Linked DNA regions of Homo sapiens: region 2 is linked to region 1. The links are contacts of gene promoters, found by promoter capture Hi-C in blood cells and fetal thymus (Javierre and others, 2016). All regions are on one chromosome and are shown on one strand. Each heading gives the region's core, a stretch centred on a gene start or on the middle of the fragment in contact. The rest is flanking DNA. Distances are from core to core; before and after follow the strand shown.

Region 1 (2,985 bases), core at 124-2,623:
TTCAGTAGGGAGTTGCCCATGGTCTGGGCCCGGGAAGCCCCTTCCTTCAGGTCCTCCTCCAGGCTCACTAGGTTGCCATCCTCAGCCAGGAGAGCAATGGTCGCTGGGAGGACATGGAGAGAGACTGGGCAGGGCTGGCACCCCTGCCTGGGACCCCTCAGCCCCTCCTTCTCCTCCCTGTCTCCTCACCATCTGGGGGCAACCCTGCTTTCTGCCTCAGGTGGGCGGTGAGGTTCACCAGCCTGCAAGAGGTGTTCACCAGCACCGAGCAGCCAGCTGTGGAGAGGGGCAAAGGTGAGCCTGTGAGATCTCTTACCTTCCTCCAAATCGGGGTCCTCTGTCTCTCCCTCCCATCTCTCCCTTTCCCAGAGCTGCGACTGGGCCTATGGGCTAAGACTGTGCCCCGGGCATAACAGCTCCAACATCTGTTGCTTAAACTGCCTTGGAGAACCCTCCATCCATCTCCCATGTGTGGTGACTTTTCTCCCATGTGTGGTGACTCCCAAGTGTTGGTCTCTTGAGTCCTGCAAAGCACGAAGTGGGCGCCAGCCCAGCCTCCTCCCGGGACCCGCCCCCACGGGACCCAGCCAGTCCCCGCCCTCCGCACCCACCGGCTCCTCTCTTCCCTTCCGCTACCGCACAGGGCCGACCCGCCTCCAGCCAGAGGCACGGGGACCCTGCAACTGTGGCTAGAGTTTCAGGTGTCTGATGCACGCTGAAGCTTGAGGATCACGGATTGAATGGCGAAGAGATTGTGCGGCTTAAAAACCTGCTCCAGGGTAATGCGGCGGTCTCTGGCCGAGAGGAACCCTTGTGAATGAGCAGGACTCAGCTCGGGTTTTCCCTTTAAGGGACTCGCTCCAGGTGCTGGCTTCGCCTCCTCACAGAGCCGCTTCCCCGACGACCCCCGCCATGTGCACCACCCCCCTTTCCCGCCATTGCCTCCCCACCCACCGCAAGGGCGGAAGGAAGCACGCCTCTGAGTGTGCTCATCCCCCTATCCGCCTACCAAGACAGGGGACCCCACTTACCCCCAAACATCACCTTGATAAACATAGCTGCAGCGGGTGAGGGAGATGTGGGGGGCTTTGATCCCCCAACTCTCGATTCCCCAACTAAGGAAAAGCGTGGAGCAGAGACCTGCTTCAGGGCCGGGCTCTGGAGGGAGAAGTGGATGTGTGAGTGTGGATGGCTGGGTCCCAGGGCCAGGCCCCTGCTCAGCCACCTCTGTGGTTCTGCTGCTTCAGCCTAGCTCAAACCCTGCAGCTAGTCCAAGACTCCTGGCCTCCTCTTCCTCCCCACTGAGCCCTGGGCCACAGCAGCTCCCCTAAGCTTCCAAGCTGGTCTCCATGGCAGTGGGGGCGGAGACATCTAGGCAGGAAATGCCTTCCTCCCTGTATCCGTTAACGGGGCCCATGGGGGAGAGGTGACAGAAGAAGTGGGGGCTGGCATTCCCTGAGGCGGGGAATGCCATCATTGGGATTGATTTTTTTTAGAGACAGTCTCCCTATGTTGCCCAGGCTGGTCTCGAACTTGGCTCAAGCAATTCTCCAGCCCCAGCCTCCCACAAGTGCTGGGATTGCAGTTGTGAACCACTTGTACAGTAAAGTTCACCCTTTCTGGTGTTTTAAAGTTATGCCAACTCTCATATAACCACCACCACAGTCAAGATACAGAACATTTCCATCACCCCCAAATTCCTTTGCCCCCTTTGTACTCAGCCCTAGTCGCTTCCAGGTCCATAGCAGGTCACAAGCACCTCCTTGTTAGCACTGGCCACTAGCTAGTCCCTCACACCGGTTCTCACCGTCATTTCCTGTCTTTTATTTATTTATTTATTAAGTTTATTAATTATTATTATTATTGGTGTTTTTTAAATTTTTATTTTTTGAGATGGAGTCTCCCTGTCACCCAGGCTAGAATGCAGTGGTACGATCTCGGCTCACTGCAACCTCCGCCTCCCGAGTTCAAGCGATTCTCCTGCCTCAGCCTCCCAAGTAACTGGGACTACAGGTGTGCACCACTACACCTGGCTAGTTTTTTTTTTTTTTTTTTTTTTTTTTGAGACGGAGTCTCGCTCCCTCGCCCAGGCTGGAGTGCAGTGGTGTGACCTCGGCTCACTGCAAGCTCCGCCTCCCGGGTTCACGCCTTTCTCCTGCCTCAGCCTCCTGAGTAGCTGGGACTACAGTCGCTCGCCACCACGCCCAGCTAATTTTTTTTGTATTTTTAGTACAGACGGGGTTTCACCATGTTAGCCAGGACGGTCTCAATCTCCTGACCTCGTGATCTGCCCGCCTCGGCCTCCCAAAGTGCTGGGATTACAGGATTACAGGCGTGAGCCACTGCGCCCGGCCTTTTTTTGTATTTTTAATAGAGATGGAGTTTCACCATATTGGTCAGATTGGTCTCGAACTCCTGACCTCAAATGATCCGCCCATCTTGGCCTCCCAAAGTGCTGAGCCACCAAGCCTGACCTATTTATTTTTTTTTGAGAATGAGTCTCGCTCTGTCAGCCATGCTGCAGTGCAGTGGCGCAATCTCGGCTCACTGCAACCTCCGCCTCTCGGGTTCAAGCGATTCTCCTGCCTCAGCCTCCGGAGTAGCTGGTATTACAGGCGCCAGCCACCACCCCTGGCTAATTTTTTGTATTTTTAGTAGACATAAGGAAGGCCAGGCTGGTCTCGAACTCCTGACCTCAGGTGATCCACCTGCCTGAGCTTCTCAAAGTGCTGTGATTATAGGAATGAGCCACTGTGCCCGGCCATTTCGGCCATTTCGTGTCTTTTGTATTTGTCTGCTTCTCCCAGTCTCTCCCCTTCTTGTTCCCCTCCTCTCCGTCTTCCTTTTCTGTCTAGGCTTCACATTCTCTCTCCCCTCCCCTCCTCTCCCCTCCCCTCCCCTCCCTCCTTTCCCTTTTTTCCTTTCTCTTCCTCCCTCCCTCTCTCCCTCCCTCCCTTCCTTCCTTCCTTTCTTTTTTTGACAGAG
Region 2 (2,983 bases), core at 400-2,899, 810 kb before region 1:
AGAAAACAGAGATCCAACAGAGGAGCAGTGTGGGGAGTGCCCAGGGTGACAGTGACACACCAAGCACGGGGAGAAACCAGTCCAGATTGGGGTGGGTCAAGAATAATAACTGATAAATGATGTCATGATCTTCAGATATGATTGGGGTTGAATTAGTGACAAATAGAAAACCAAGCAAATAAAAATGCAAGAGGATTACTTTCAGGGAAAAGTTCCACAGTAATCTAGTCTATTGTATGACTCAGCTGTGATCACTATGACACTGTCATATTTTTAAAAAGTTTAATCACATCTTAATAATTTGACACTGAATATGATCTAACCAGAATTACAATATCAGGGAGATGGGTGAGAGGAAGTAAATTCATGGTGGGCAGGAGGAAGAGAGGATTCAAAAGATAATGGTGGCCGGGTGCAGTGGCTCACACCTATAATCCCAGCAGGCCGAGGCGGGCAGATCACTTGAGCCCCGGAGTTCAAGACCAGCTTGGGCAACATGGCAAAACCCTGTCTCTACAAAAAATACAAAAATTAGCTAGGCATGGTGGTGTGCACCAGTATTTCTAGCTACTCAGGAGGCTGAGGTGGGAGAATCACCTGAGCCCGAGAAGGTTGAGGCTGCAGTGAGCCATGATTGTGCCATTGCACTCCCGCCTGGGGAAGAGTGAGACCGTCTTAAAACAAGCAAACAAAAAACCATCAAGGAATAGTCATGAAAACATGTTCATATTGAGACATGGAGGTAAATACAAACAAATCAGCCAAGAGTTGGACAGACTACTGTGAGGCAAGGAAAGTGGGGTAAAGGCAGGGTAGGAGGGCTACTGTTTTTCATAATAAACCTTATGGAACAACTTGTTTTCAATCTGCGTCAACTGATTTTCCCCCCTAAGATGCAGGATATAAAACTGTTTACAAAGCTACATATTTTAGGTTGATCCCCCTTCACTTTTCAGATCTAGGTAGGGTTATAGCCAGTTTCCATTGCGTGGAGAATCTGCAAGGCTGGTGTTCCTGTACGGGTCCAGAGTGAACTACATCAAAAGTCGCTTTTGATATCGAGGATGCAGTTCACTACTATTAAGTGTAATGTGTTATTATTCAAAGTAAGTACTGTTTACTGTAAAAGTATGATGAATTCAGTAATGATTATACTAAAATAACATACTAGTACAGGGTCAAAATACGGCTTTAGGTCTACTTAAGATAGAATACTTAAGAATTACTTATCTGGGGACCAGGGAATTGTTTAAAATGCAGATTCCTGGGCCCCACTCCAGGTGTGCGGCTTGCAGTCTTCATTTCTAATAAGATCCTTAGTTGATGTTGAAAACCACTGCTTTCATTTGTTTTTTATTTAAGAGACAGGGTCTCACTGTCATCCAGGCTGGAGTGCAGTGGTGCAATTATAGCTCACTGCAGCCTTAATCTCCTGGGCTCATGTGGTCGTCCTGCCTCAACCTCCAGGATAGCTGGGACTGCAGGCATCAGCTGTGCCCAGCTACTTTTCAATTTTTTGTAGAGATGCGGTCTTGGTTAACAAAGCTTAACAGCCCAGGCTAGTCTCAAACTCCTAGGTTCAAGTGATCCTCCCGCCTCGACCTCCCAAAGTGCTGGCATTATAGGCGTGGGGCACCATGTTTGGCCTGAAGCCCTATTTTAAACGTCTATTGTATCTGACCAACTCACTGATGCTTATTCCTCAGAATACCAGCTCTGTAACCTCCAGGTAGTATCATAAGACAAAGCTTATTAGAACCTCATTAATTGATGCCAGGTTAACTAATGTGCTGGATTTTTTTCCCCTCCTCTTTCATTACTTGAATAATCTGTTCAATGAGCAATATTCTAAAAGCCAATAATTGATCAGTTTTCCTCTTGATGGCTTATGCTGTAGCTCATACCATAATGAATACCTGGCAAGACCTCTTTTTGGTGATTTGATTTTTTCAGGCTGCTTTTCCAGTTTCTGTGTTTTTGTCACAATTATTCACCCTGTGTATCTTATACTCTTTACTACTACTTATTTTTCTTTAAAGACAAAGTCTTGCTCTTTTGCCCAGGCTGGAGTACAGTGGCAAGGTCATAGCTCACTGCAGCCTCATACTCCCAGGCTCAAGTGATCCTCCCACCTCAGCCTCCCTAGTAGCGAGGACTACAGGTGTGCACCACCATGCCAAGTTAATTTTTAGAATTTTTTGTAGAGACAGGGTCTCACTATGTCTCGCGGGCTGGTTTTGAACTCCTCTCAAACAATCCTCTACCTCAGCCTCCCAGAGTGCTGGAAGCAAGCCACTGTGCTGAGCTGCTGGTCACCCTTCCTACATTAACAACTATGGATGTGCCAATCAATGCTGAGATGCTCTGATATGCTCCCAAGAATCTGTTTCCACAAATCACCACAAAACTACTTGTTGTAGCCAGTATACGAGCCAAGGAAGCTGGCCACTAGGATCCCCTGAATTACTTTTTTTTTTTTGAGGTGCAGTCTCGCTCTGTCACCCAAGCTGGAGTACAGTGGCATGATCTCTGCTCACTGCAATGTCCACCTCCTGGGTTCAAGCGAATCTTCTGCCTCAGCCTCCCGAGTAGCTGGGACTACAGGTACATGCCACCGCACCCGGCTAATTTTTTTATTTTTAGTACACACGAGGTTTCACCATATTGGCCAGGCTGGTCTCGAACTCCTGACCTCGTGATCCGCCCGCCTTGGCCTCCCAAAGTGCTGGGATTACATGCGTGAGCCGCCGCACCCAGCCCCTGAATTACCTATGACTTTATCAAGGGAAAGAGTCACCTGTGTTGTTAAAGCTGAGCTGATGACAGCTCCACAAATGTTAACTGAACAAAGTGCCACACTATGTGCCTGTGTCTGAAGATGAATGAGACACAATCTGTGTGTTCTCGGAGCTTCTCCAAGGTGAACTTTTCTGGGGCTTAACCTGCAACTGGCCAGGAACAGCAGCTTAAAATCTCATCAATA

What was found. The method cuts DNA at HindIII sites, captures the fragments that hold promoters and counts their contacts. A CHiCAGO score of 5 or more calls a contact.
Region 2: a fragment that was not itself captured here is called in contact with the fragment with the promoter of C22orf15 in region 1 in 2 of 17 cell types (monocytes and neutrophils); the score reaches 5.2 in monocytes.

The regions. Positions count from the first base shown.
Region 1 is chr22:23,761,378-23,764,362 of GRCh38, reverse strand. C22orf15 (chromosome 22 open reading frame 15) reads right to left here and starts at 1,373. Exons shown (of 6, transcript NM_182520.3): 1 at 1,032-1,373; 2 at 190-276; 3 at 1-103. The coding sequence starts at 1,056. The HindIII fragment of the contact is 2,909 bases long and covers 1,335-2,985 here.
Region 2 is chr22:24,572,257-24,575,239 of GRCh38, reverse strand. SNRPD3 (small nuclear ribonucleoprotein D3 polypeptide) reads right to left here. Exons shown (of 4, transcript NM_004175.5): 4 at 269-2,983. Among named protein-coding and RNA genes, the nearest start is that of SNRPD3, 18 kb to the right of the region's middle. The HindIII fragment of the contact is 203 bases long and covers 1,548-1,750 here.